Regions from separate parts of the Homo sapiens genome. Here regions 1 and 2 are each linked to region 3. Evidence: promoter capture Hi-C in 16 types of primary human blood cells and fetal thymus (Javierre and others, 2016). All regions are on one chromosome and are shown on one strand. The core of a region is centred on a gene start or on the middle of the fragment in contact, and the rest is flanking DNA. Distances in the headings are between cores, read along the strand shown.

Region 1 (4,278 bases), core at 139-2,638, 2.0 Mb after region 3:
TTTTGTGGTACACAAGCCCCTCCACAGCCTAGCCCACCCTTATTTTTTGCTATAAGCATTCCTGACCCCTAGGTTTCTGGCAGTCAGAGTGGACAGTCCCCTCTCTCTGCCTTGTCCCATGGCCATCCATCCCAATATTAAAAAAAAAAAAATCTCCAAGCCATTTGGTACTGTTGTTCCCTCCATCTAGAATTCTCTGGCCCATGAGGTCAGATCCTGTCCATTCCCCAACACCCAGCTCGAATGCCACGCCCTCACGGGTTGGAGGAGAAGGGGGTTAGTCAGGAGCAAGCCCTTCTCAGAAATCCTACAGTTCTTTGCCTGAACCTATTTTGGGACATTAATCTCTTCCTACCCGCTCTGTGAGTGATTTTTGTTGTTGTTTAAGAGTTATCTTTGCCCTTAAGAGTTATTTTTGTCCTCGTTTTACGGATGGGATTTGGGTTCCTCCAGGTAAGACCTACCCTCCTCCACCCCCAAATCCTCCTGGTACCTGGATGTAGCCTAAGAAGAATTGTCCTATGAACGAAGAATAAATTAAGATTGGGTTTGCAATTGACGCCAGCAGAAGCAGAAATGGGCTAGGTTGAGCACCAGGCAAGACAAGCTGACGATCAGGGTACACATCTTGAATCAGAAACCCTGGGCACAGACCAGCAGTCTGCGTGGTAACAGGCCCTCCGAGTGATTCTGATGACACTCGAGTTTGAGAACCAGGGCGGTCTAGCCAAAAGCCTGCAGTACACCCCTTCCCCTCTCTCGCAGCTTACGACCTTGACCCTGGGCTCTGGGGGCTTCCGCCGAGGAGGGAGGAGGGCACAGGCGGTCACAAAGGAGGGCGGGAGTGGAAGGGGTGAGCCTGGAAGAGAAAGTGCGAGGATGCGAGAAGAGGGATGGAGCGAAGGAAGAGGATCAGAAGGAGGAAAGGAAGGTAGCGGGGAGGGCACAGAAGTGGGGAGGGAGGGAGTGGAGGAGGGACTGGCACCCCGCACGGTGGCATCTTCCAGAAGGTCATGCGTCCGTCCCCACGTCTTTCCAGGGCCGGTTCTCCCCGGTGGGGCCCGGGGTCTTGGAGACCAGTCTGTGCAGCCTGCCCGGCACCAGCGTGAGCCCCGGGACCCCGGCCTGGCGTCCCCCACGCCCGCGCCCCCGCGCCAGTACCTGCTCCTGCTGCGGGGGGGCCTCCAGCACCGGCGCTGCCTTCCGCGCCGCCGTCCCCGCGGCCATGCCTGAGCCACTGTGCCTTCTCCAGGGCACAGCGCCTGCCGGGGAGGGTCCCGCAGAGTCCGCAGAAGGAGGCGCCGCGGGGCCTCGGGAGCCGAGGGTGAGAGCCGGATCTGCGGCGGCGGCGGAGCGGCGGCCCTGCCCGGGTTGTGCGGGGCGGGAGATGGGAGCCTCCCGGCACGCCCCGCCTCCGCCCCCTGCACGCTGGCCAGCGTCCTCCCCAGCAGCGGCCTCGAGGTCCCGGTCGCCAGCACCCCGGTTCCTTCAGAACCTCAGGCCTCCCATTCAGCCAGCCATTGTCGCCGATAAAGCGTCTTGAGCCCTACCGGGTGCGTGTGGCGGGAACCCCGGTTTTGTTACCGGGCGGCAGGACTGGAGGAGGGGTCAGAGGTGGGTAGGGAGAGAGAGGGGAGTAGAGGAGTGAGAAATGGCGGTGGGGGGGCGAGGGGTGCTGGGGAGGAAGAGAAGAGAGAGAGAGAGTTTCCTCTCCCTCAGAGGTGTTTATTAGGAGGCAGGAGTTCGGGTGGCTGTGCAGATACAGACTTTCCTCAGTTATCTGTGCTTCCTCCAAAGATGATGAAGGAGAGAAACTCCAATCTAGGGAGAGCGCAGACCATCTTGGCCCCTATGCTGCTCCAGGCCATGCAGGGCCCCTGCGACGCAAGCATCTTGCCTTTGCCCCTCTACCTCCAGGGTCTCCCCTCCCGCCTTTACAACTTAGGCCTAAGCCTGGCTTCAAGGTTGAGAACAAGCTGGAACGTTTAGGCAAGCCTTTAGAAATACCTGGGTGTTGATTTGGGGAAACAGAAAAGAGGAGCACAGAATTAGATGATGTGTCCTACGAAATACAGCTTACCCCTTTCCAGTTTGTGATGGCTCGTATTTGTCAACACCTACAAAGGAGGTGAACAGACCAAGATGGACATTTCTCTGCCATTGTGGAACGTAGAGCCTAACAGGGGATAGAGAAAAATAAGCATCTAAGTACAATTTATCACGGATGGTGCCTTGGTTTTCCAGCCTTAACTGGGCATCAGAATCCTATGGAGGAATGCTGAGTTTGTTAAAACTCAGAGTGCTGGCCAAGCACAGTGGCTGATGCCTTTAATCCCAGCACTTTGGGAGGACAGGGCGGGCGGATTGCTTGAACCTAGGAGTTTGAGACCAGCCTAGGCAACATGGTGAAGCCCCATCTCTATAAAATATACAAAAGTGAGCTGGGCGTGGTACACCTGTAGCCCCAGCTACTCAGGAGGTTGAGGCTGGAGGATCGCCGGAGCCCGGGAGGTTCAGGCTGCAGTAAGCCGTGATGGAACCACTGCACTTCTGCCTGGACAACAGAGCGAGACTCTATCAAAAAACAAAACAAAAATCTTCAGATTGCTGGAGTTGAGCCCTAGAGTTTTTAATATAGTAGGTCTAGGGTGGAGCCTGAGCATTTGTCTTTTGAACAAGTTTTCAGGTGCCGCTGGGGCTGTTACCTACATCTGAAGACTACCTTGTAGCATGATCAGAGTGTGTTGGAAAGAGTGTCTGAGATGGAGAGAACAGTGGATGCAAGGGCCGGAATGCTGGAGAAGGCATAATGAATTGGAGAAATAAAAATCATGGTTAACATTGATAGAATGCTTACCGTGTGCCAGGTGCCGTCCTGAGCACTCTACCTGTGTTAGCTCATTCAGTCTTCCTGACAATCCTGTGAGGTGGGCATTGTGACCGTCCGTGTTTTACACGGGAGAACACTGAAGCACAGAGAGGTCCAGAAGTTTGTTCAAGTTTTGAAGCTAATAGGTGGGGCAGTGGGAATTTGAACCCAGACAAAACTGACTTCATGGTCTGGGTTCTTAATCTCTCAAGGAAGTAGCTGCGAAGGTCAGCAAGGGCCAGATCCACATAAATCATATTAAACAGTTTGGACTGTAGCCTCAGGAGAATGAGAAGCCATTACCGAGTTTTAAGCAAGAAAATGACATTACCAGACTTGCCTTTTGGCTTCAAGAGTGGGGAAGAGGGCTATGACTATGACTCAAGACAGAGAGACCAGCCAGAAAGCTATTGCTGTAGTTTCAGCTCTAAGGATGACAGTGGCCTTGGTGGTGAGAGTGTGTGCGGGGACAGAGTGGAGGGGAGATGGAGAGATGTGTTTGGGGATGGGAGATCTAGGTAATAGAATCTACTGTACTTGACTCATCTCCAAGGATGGTGCCCAGGCATGTGGCTTGGGCAGTCTAGCATTTGGGCAGACAGTGCTGCCATTGCTGAGAATGGGAACATTGAAAGAGCAGCAGATTTGGGGACACAAAAATAGTGGGTTCATTTGGACATGTTACTTCTCTACCTATCTTGTGGCCTGCCTTCATGTGGCAAGAGCCATTTTTTCTCTCCAGCCCAGGATATCCTCACATTCATCTAGATTCTCCCAAGGCAGCAAAATAATAAAATGAAAATAGTCCATATGGAGATAGATGTTCCCTTTCTATAAAATTCTGACCTGTTATTGTTATATAAGTCTCAGGTCCCAGATTTGAAACTCTCTCTCCTGATTGATTGGCACCAAAAAGACCCACATACTTCACTGGAGACCCATGTATGCACAAAGGTATCATCTTCCTTCTGGCTTCAGCTCAGCAATCATATCAGAATAAAACTCAAAAAGTGCATTTCTTCCCCATCAGTAACGATGGCTTTGCTCTAATCTATCCTCCTCTTATACCTGGTTTCTTCTATGATCAAATTGCAGATATTCAGAATGAATATTTAATTTCCCAGTCAGTTAGGCAATGCTCTCTGGAGTAGTTCACTGAAACAAGGTTAATTAATTTGAAATTTTGTTTTCCAAATCAAATGGTTGGCGGCTGACTCTGTCTTCTGTCCTGGAATAGATGAACTGTATTCTGCTGCTTAACACTAATCTCTTCAGCATTTTATCTGTAGTCTGTGCATCCTTCTTCATGTCCCGCAATGTAGAGTCCTGAGGTGGTTGTAATGATGTAATGGAAGAAATTAGCTAATGTGGTAAATGTGTTTGAGAAACAAGGTGGGGTCAAGAATCAC
Region 2 (4,339 bases), core at 282-2,781, 1.0 Mb after region 3:
ACTTTAGTCAAGCTAAGCATCTCCAAACTCAAGAGACAGCTAGCAGGAATCTTTAAGATAACAGCCAGCAAAAACAATTTAGTATTCATTGTCCACATCATTCAAGCACCGCTGAGTCCTACCGTACACTTCCTCCAAGTCACCCTTCTGAAACCCTAGGAACAACACTTGTACTTAGCTGCAAGTTCTGTAGTTGCTCAGTTCCTACACAATTACAGCAGTAATTAATTTAGATTGGGATTATTTTCTTATAATTGAGAAGACTAATGGTCTCCAAACCAACAAGATGGCTTTGTACAGAAAAATCCACAGTAAGCTATAACAATTGAAGTTACAGTTTGAGTGGGTTGGCATATATATTTGCTCCTTTCTTTTGTTTAAGACAGAACCACTTAAGATAAGAGATTTATGTTTTGGAATTTCAGTACTATTTTTTTAAGAGGTGGTATCCTAGAGAGCTCAATCAATATTGTTATACATTGGAAACATTTATGGTGCCATAGGTGTTTACTATTCACAGATCTGGGGAAGATACCTGCCAGGGATATTTCACTACACTGAAACTCCCTGGAAATCTGTAGAGGTAGAGCTCTGCCTTTGGGCATTAGTCATTAAAAATATCTTGTCAGCTACTGTGACAAGTAAAGGCAGCTGAGAAGTACGGTCTAAAGAAGGGTAAATCTCGCCGTGTGCACAGTTACCCTTCGCATTTCTACAAGTGAAATGGGAGTAAAAATGAGCATTCAAAGCTGTCAAAGGAAAAGCAGTCCAGCAGTTCGAAGGGATATTCTGTGATGGACCAACTGTATGGTACAGTGTGTAAATGAACTTCAGGTCTATCTAGCGCCACGGGGGAGCCACGCTTTCGCACCACTGAGCTCTGGGGATGGGGAGAGTAGTGCAGGTTGGGGCCCCGTTTAGGAAACTACGAAGGGCTCTGAGAGAGCGAATTGTTCAGCAGTTTCCGTGACAGAACAATGATCTATTTAAGAAGTAATGGGGCAAGCAAAGAAAGCAGAGCTCGGTCATCCGGAAAAAGAAAGAGGAGCCGGAAAGAAAAGTATCAAGGAATCTACTGTGAGAGAGCGAGCAAAAAGCAAAAAGCGATCACAAATCCAGAGCAAGTAAGAGCTCAGGGATGCCGGGCCCGGGGGTCTAGCCTTTCTGAAGGGAGAGGGCTCCCCAGGCACGGGGGCAGCGCGAGGCAGCGCCCGCATTCCGTCTGCTGCCTTATCTTCGCATTCTCCCTACCACCCCCACCTTCCCCCCGGGACTGGAATAACCTTCTTCGTGCTCTCCGGTGGCTGAGAAAGCAGCTTTCGCTCTTCTGTGGTAGCGTGGAGGTGAGGTACATCTACCTCCACCCTCCCGGCACCAGCTCACGGTCTGTTGGGGGGGTCCTCCTAACGTGTGAGGCTAGGGTGTGTGAATGAAAAAGAGGGAGGCGGAGGCCTCCTGGAGACCTTCGACCTCTCAAGACCAGGCAGGGGCGCCCTTCCGCAAGCTCCCAGCTCTAGCCGGTGCCTCTGGCCCCGCGCGCATTAGGTCGCTGCCAGAAAATTACCCGGGCAACGACACCGCCGGAGTCCCGGATGTGGTTGCTAGGGCAGCAGAGGGAGGGGCGTAGCCCGCCTCCCGGAGAAGGGCGGAGGGATCCTCGTGGGAGGTGCGCTGACACCACCGAGACGTGGCCGGGCAAGGCCGGATTGAGGGAGAGAGAGGCCGTCCAGGGCCAGGGACAACGCTACTTCCGGTCTCCTCACTTCCGGCTTCGCTGCTCTTGGTTCTGGTTCTGGAGGCTGGGTTGAGAGGTCGCCGGTCCGACTGTCCTCGGCGGTTGGTCAGTGTGAATTTGTGACAGCTGCAGTTGCTCCCCGCCCCCGAGCAGCCGAGGTGCGTGGGGGAAGGGGAAGAAGGAAAAGGTCCGGGTCGCGTTTCCGCTCAGTTTTTGCCAGGGTTGAGGCGATTCCAGAGAGCGGCGGAAAGGATAAGCCTCGACTTAGAAGCTACCGAGTTACCCTAAGAAAGGTGAGGGCGGAGCTGGCTCGCCTGGGAAAAGGCGGGGGAAAGATGGTTTGAGGTGGCTGGTGGGGCGGGCACGTTGCCTACGGGTTCACCGTTCCGAACTTTCACAGGGCACGCCTCTCCTTAGTCTGTGCCGTATCTGCCCAAGTGTTATGCCTTTGGTTTCTTCTGTCCTTCATTCCTTCTGTCCCTCTGAGTGTGCCCCCGAAACAGTCGAGTGAAGGTGTAGGACCGGCCCTTGCAGGGAGGCACTCTCTTGGCTTTGCATACATTGGGTGGGAAAAGGAGTTGCAGGATCCAGAATCCGGACCTTTCTTGACAAAGTGTCGGAGTGGGCCACCTTCAGGCTTGCTGTCCAACCCTCATTTCTCCCCTCTTCTCCCTGCATCCCCAGCTTCCTCTCTCCCGCAGTGGGAGGAAGGGAGATAGTGACAGTCCCTCTGAGAGATTCATCTGGCAGTGGTGCAGAGAGGAGTCTTGCCTGTGAAATGTCCCAAGCCTGACTAAGGAATGCTGGAGTTTTGGAAAGGGAGTTGTTCGATTGTCTTCTGCTCCGTTCCTGTTTGCCAAGTTACTACTGTTTACGTGTCTAGGAAAAGGAAATAATTTTTTAAAAACAGTTTTTAGATGCTAGACGTTTTTCCCTTTTACTTTATTTTGTTATTACTTCCTTTGTTTTGTTCTTACCTTCCTCTTGAGCCCTTTGATTTCAAAAAGTTTACACTTTATACTTCCTGCAGATCCTTTGGCCACTCTTAGGATTTCTGTCCCCCGCCCCTACCCTGTTTTCTCCTAAAGTATAAAATTCATCTAACTACATTATTATTTGATAAGGAAAAGCCGGAAGAGATCCAGAACTTCGCATAAACTTTTGCTTTCATACTTTCACCTGTAAGGGTGTGTTCATGTTTGCCATTTAATTAACTTAATTGGCATAGAAATGTGCACCAGAAATGGTTACCTTAAGTCAGCCGTCTGTTAAGGCTTCAGGAATTGGCCTTTTCTTTTTTCTTTTTTTTTTTTTTTTTTTGAGACAGAGTCTCACTCTGTCGCCCAGGCTGGAGTGCATTGGCACGATCTCGGCTCACCGCAACGTCCACCTCCCAGGCTCAAGCTTTTCTCCTGTCTCAGCCTTCTGAGTAGCTGGGTTTACAGGTAGGCGCCACTACCGCCTAGCTAATTTTTGTATTTTTAGTAGAGACGGGGTTTCACCGTGTTGGCCAGGCTGGTCTCAAACTCCTGACCTCAAATGATCCTCCCTCCTCGGCCTCCCAAAGTGTTGGGATTACAGGCGTGAGCCACCGCGCCCGGCCGAATTGGCCATTTCATTGCTGTTCTCTCAGAGCGGCTACAGATTACTATATTTTACTGCTGCCTTAATTCTGCTTTTCTTTCGTTTGTCCTGTGGTGTTTTTTGTTTTGTTTTCCTTGCTTAGCATGACCCACGTCTTCTCCCAACTACCAAGTCTAACACACTTTTATCTGAGAAAAGAGAAAAGATTTCTAATGTATTTTGTGGATTAAATCCCTGCCTCAGTTACTTTAGTTTCTTTCCAAATTGATAAACTGGTTTTCCTTGGATTATGATTTGCCTTAATCCTGGATGATGACTTGGGGTTCATGGCCTAAGGGTCAACAACTTTCAGGGGTCTTCCTCATTCCCACCCCTGAAATTATATGCAGTTTTGTTTGAGTGAATTTTTTTCCCCCCTGGGGAAAGTGTCCATTGTTTTTATCAAATTCTCAAAGGAGATATACAGCCTCTTGATAGATTAAAACCACCACTTAGGCAGTGTCTTGTTGAAGTTAGTGAAAACAGGTTTTGTGTGTGTATGTGTGTGTGTGTTTTCCACTTAGGCAGTATCTTGTTGAAGTTAGTGAAAACAGGTGTGTATGTGTGTGTGCTTTCCCAAACTGTGCAAAGGAGATATATAGCTTCTTGATAGATTAAAACCACCACTTAGGCAGTGTCTTGTTGAAGTTAGTGAAAACAGGTAGGGGTGTGTGTGTGTGTGTGTGTGTGTGTGTGTGTGTGTTTTCCCAAACTGTAAATTGTTTGCTTTGGGACCAAGGAAAGGAGAATGCAGGGATTCTTCTAGTTTGATATTGAAATCTCTCCTTTAAAACATTAGTGTTTCTAAATTCCTTCCTAGACTTACAGAAGGAAATGAGGCTGCCCACTTTATTTCCTGATTTGTGGTTTTGAGGTTTCTTCTTAGGGATAGCTGTTTGTGGTCCATGCTCTGGAGATCCAGTGGATTTACAAACTGATGTGCCTATCTTTAATATGTATTAAATATCACCAACCAACTAG
Region 3 (4,656 bases), core at 1,381-3,880:
TCTGGGTTTCGAAATCATCCTCTGCATATTACCTTCAAAGAAGGAATCACACTGTTCTCTGTTTGTTTATAAGACACATCTCCCCTACTAGTTTTTGAACTCCTTAAAGGCAAGGATCATCTTTATGACCCAGCTCAAAGCCCAATGTCTGGTATTAGTAGACATGCTAAAATGTTTGTGAAGTGATGAATACATGTATGAATATATTCAGACTTAGAAACAGCATCACAGAGATGGGTCTTCAGAAAACATTTAATATATCCCGCTTCACCCAAAACTCCCTAAATAAGTATTTCCAAAGAGTTGTGTTATTATTAAAACAAGAAAATAATTTTCCATGTTCAATATAAAATAAACATTTTTCTAATGAAAATAGGATTAAATAAGAATCTTACCGGCAAAGTTCCAGGTAGAGATGCATCAAAAAAAGAAACCAAAGAATTTGGAGGTGCTGAAAAGCGAACTTGAGATCCAGAGAAGAGTTTAGAGTTGGAGGAAATCTGGGCATGAATTTCCAAACCTACCACAGCAGCCCATTTGTGTTCACTAAGAAGAAAGAGATAATGGTTAAGATGTATTATATTTGTCACCATGAATGAATTTCTATAAGTCTAAACCACAAATGTTAATTTCCTATATGTGTTTTAAACTTAATACAATGTTATATCCTCACATTAAAAATGTGTCATATTTTATCAGTGACTAAATAAAAAACAATTTAGAATAAGCGCCTACACTGAGATTGGCAAACTAAAATTCATTTACAACATGGCATCAGGAGGCTGATGATATAAACATGAAGGCTATAGAGAAAGGAACAATTTGGCGTCTTAAAACAATTTAGAAATGGGTATCAGGTGACAACTGCTTGGCTGACTTCAGTGAAAAGCGGCATTTAACAAATTAACTGTAACTTATCAAGTAATCACTCAGTAAATGATGAAAGCTGATCTTTCCCACATTATCTAGAATTAACATAAATGGCAACATTCTACTACTAGAGAAATAATGATAAATAGTTCCACGTCTCTTATTTAAAAAGGAAATTCTCAACCATGTTTTGGTTTGCATGTATAATAACCAGAGAGACACAGATACAATAAATCACCACTAAATGATACTCTTAAAAAAATTTTGCAAAACTCCACCACACTAAACCATCTGATGCGGCATATTTTTGGTCCCCCAAATCACTTTCAATTCCTGAGACCTAATTTCAGGTTACTTTTTTAATGCTTATTTGCTATCAAATCTAAGAAGCTGTTAAATGCTATAATAATCTCTCTTATCTGGTCAGTCCTACTCTGTTGGGTCTGTACATAGGCCTCTCCAGGTCCTTATAAATGTGCTTATTCCCTATGAAATCCATGTATGTTCCTATCCTGCTCTTCTCCCAAGTAATTTTGTGTATATACATATATATATATATACATATTTTACATCGTTTTGTTTTGTTTCAATCATTTCAACATATAAAGTTCTATATCTGAAGTACTGCAAGAATAAGTCCTTCTTTTTAAAGTTTGGAAACACAGCCCATAAGGGAGGGGAATTAAAGTAGGAACTCATTAGAAATTCTGCATGCAGTAAAGCACCATTCAAAGTATTTTTGCATTTCCATTACATGAGAGAAAAAATGTACTTTCCATTCACAAGGAAACAATCTAATTCACGAAAAGAATACAAAACTGAATACTTCTTTCTGGACAATTTCCCTCTGTTCCTCCAACTGAAAGTAAAAATAATGCCAACTAGTCTCAAAGAATAAACAAAATATTAGAAACTTGCCATATGTTTCTGTATTTAAAGAGAAACTATTTAATTCTTACATAATGAAGCATAAACAGCTGTTCAGGGGATATCTGGCCAAATAAGCAAAACTCTCCATATAACCAGGGGGAGTATCTCTTCTTTTGGCTGCGTCCTCCTAGGTCTAGTCACACATATTCCAACATAAAACGCCTGCACAGATAGCTAGTGTTTTCTGACTAATGACAATAACCCACCACTACCAAGAGCTTGTAGGTAAAGGCTCCCTTTCTACCTTTAGAACGCTGCCAGCCCATACTAGCGCTAAATAAAATCAGCTAAATATGATCCCGCTTCTCGTGTCACCGTCCCCACTGCTAGTGCTATTAGTAAGATGACCGAATCCACTCTTCTGTCTGTGCACCCTTCAAGAAAATATTTGCTATTTTACACTCGCGAATTCCCCAACTACATCTATTTGAAAACAGTGGTTTATATATGGGGGCGGAGTTGATAGAAAGTCTGTTTGTGCTTTTATTTAGGTTTCGGGGCTCCAGGTTATAACTCAACGCCCTCCCGTCAGCCAAAACGTCTAGAAGCTGGGCCGTAATTGCCATTATTTCCCCAGTCCTGCAGTTCCACCTCACAGTTAGGTGGGCAGAAATGTATGAAACAGAATACCCTTTCCTCGTCTTCTGGGCCGTGTGGAGGGGCTGCTGAGCCACTGAGCTCTCTCCCCTAATCTGGTTGGATGTGGACCCAGTCGGAGCCCCTCTTCGGTGGCAAGAACCACCGTCAACCCGGGCGAAAGCCCAACGTCTTCCACGGCAGCCCCAGCGCAGCATGGGCGCCGCCATTGTAACTCCAGGGTCTTGGTCAGGTGACTCAGCCTCACTATGCCGCGAGGCTCCCTGGGAAGCGTAGTTCTGGAAATGCATTAAAAACGCCATAGGCTCGGACCGGAAGACTACTATTCCCGGCGAGCATTGTGATTCGAAGCCTGCCGGAACCCCGCGGAGAGGGGAGGGAAGGAGAAATAGAGGAGAGGGTGGGAGGGTTTCTGGGTGGGGAGGTGTGACTCCTCCTAGCGGGGAGTTGGAGAGGTTTGTGGCTGTGAGCGTGTGTATAAGTTAGAGTGTGAGCGCTTGATGCTTGGTGCTAAAGCGTGGCCGGGATTTTATAACCCAGTTAACCTTGCAAGGGGAAGTAAATGACCTTGACAGCTCAGCAGAGACTTCCTCAGCCCCCAAACCCAATCCGTTATATTCTCTGTCTACTCTCCTGCTTCACTCAGCAATTTGTGCGTTAATGCAACAAATACTTATTTGCATGCCTACCGTAATGCCAGGCTCAGTTCTCTTAGGCACTGTAGTTACTGCAGAGATCAAGACAGTTATGGCCCGCATGTTCATGGAGCTTACATTCTAAAGAAGGGAGACATACAGAAGTTAACAAAAATAAGATACTTCCATATAGGTAGTAAGTGCTATGTTTAAGCAGAGGTAATTGGAGACAAACAGCCCTAGATTGAATGTTCATGTACATTTTAACCTCCTTTTTATTATTGGCCAGTATCAGAAACACACTCCTTATATGCTAGGAGCAGATACCATCGTCCCAGCGGACTTCCTTCATTTTCCTGTGTCAAAACTAATACCCCTTGTTAAAACTGCCACCGATTTCTTGTGTTTGAACACAGTCTAGAATAGTCATTTAGCCACTCTCTATTTCATCACCCGACTTTGATTGTCCTCGTAGTGCTTTTGACTGCCTGATGTTTATCTTCTATTTCCACAAATTCCTCGTCTGTCTTATTCACTACAGTACAAAGTAGGTTCCTTAAAAATATTTGTTGAATAAAGTAGTGCAGTGTGGAGAATGCATTTGACAAAGGATGGAGTGGATGCCCTTTGGAGCAGTAATTGTTTAGGGGAGAGATGATGAGTTAGGGTGGTGGCAGAGCCAAAGAGAAATGGATCTGTTTGAGATAGATATAGGAAGTAAAATTGAAGGACTCTGATGGATTGGATATGATGGTGGAAGGCTAGGAGAAACAAATAACTCCTGGATTTCTGGTTTGCACAACTGGCTGATGAAGTTATCCACCGAGATAAGGAAACCAGAAAAGGAACAGGTTTGCAAAGAAAACATATGAGTTTGGTTGCCTTGGAGACATTCAAGAGGAGAAATCAAGTAGACATCAGTGATGCCTAATTCTGAGTATAGAGCAGGGCAAGGGGAAAAGCTGCATATTTTGTATACTTCACATTGATAGATTTTCAGTTATTGATCAATAATCCATTGATTAGTTGGCTGTAACCTTTGATCTTTTCCTTTAATACACTTCAATTGCATATCCATATGGAAGAAAGAAACTTTAGTTACTGTCCTTAAAATTGTCATCATTTATTTTTTCCATCTTTTCTACTTTTTCATCCACTATCACTGTTCTAAATTGCCACACCAGAAGTATCAGTCATTTGACCAAGGATGAAAATGACAAAAATGACAGGGACTGGAAGGGAGTGGTGGAGACTTGTTCCAAAATTTCTCTCTAATTATTGCCCTTTATTTAAGGTTCAGATGATTCTCTAGATCCTTTACTAGAGTCTTCCCTCTGAGTTTCCATGTTTTCCACCTTTACTCTAGGTAAGCTAGCTTTCTTTTACTTATTTAGCTCCTCAGGTTTTTCTGGCCCAGACTAGGGGTCAGGAGAGTTGCCTCTGAGCACAAAATGGCTTCACTTTTGTTAGGACAACAGAGGAGAATGGAATCTTGTATCTCTAGCTAAAAAGAGAGGGGGACACTTGTTACCTCATCGCTGGTAATCAGCATCCTTAAAAGGCGATTCACTCCATCAAATGGAAGATTGGGAATGTTTTGAAAACCACTGTAAGGGAGAGCAAC

The links. Contacts are between HindIII fragments. The CHiCAGO score rates a contact against its expected background, and 5 or more counts as called.
Region 1: a contact is called between the fragment with the promoter of RNF175 here and the fragment with the promoter of GATB in region 3, in 1 of 17 cell types (naive B cells). The highest score is 7.7, in naive B cells.
Region 2: a contact is called between the fragment with the promoter of TIGD4 here and the fragment with the promoter of GATB in region 3, in 2 of 17 cell types (non-activated CD4 T cells and naive CD8 T cells). The highest score is 5.4, in non-activated CD4 T cells.

The regions. Positions count from the first base shown.
Region 1 is chr4:153,758,636-153,762,913 of GRCh38, forward strand. RNF175 (ring finger protein 175) reads right to left here and starts at 1,389. Exons shown (of 9, transcript NM_173662.4): 1 at 1,162-1,389. The coding sequence starts at 1,227. The HindIII fragment of the contact is 8,763 bases long and covers 1-4,278 here.
Region 2 is chr4:152,778,199-152,782,537 of GRCh38, forward strand. TIGD4 (tigger transposable element derived 4) reads right to left here and starts at 1,532. Exons shown (of 2, transcript NM_145720.4): 1 at 1,284-1,532. It overlaps ARFIP1 (ARF interacting protein 1), which reads left to right and starts at 1,756. Exons shown (of 9, transcript NM_001025595.3): 1 at 1,756-2,028. RefSeq lists enhancers at 974-1,183, 1,634-1,793, 1,984-2,033. The HindIII fragment of the contact is 8,897 bases long and covers 1-3,137 here.
Region 3 is chr4:151,758,377-151,763,032 of GRCh38, forward strand. It overlaps GATB (glutamyl-tRNA amidotransferase subunit B), which reads right to left and starts at 2,631. Exons shown (of 13, transcript NM_004564.3): 1 at 2,431-2,631; 2 at 396-546. The coding sequence starts at 2,606. RefSeq lists an enhancer at 2,347-2,626. The HindIII fragment of the contact is 14,733 bases long and covers 1-4,656 here.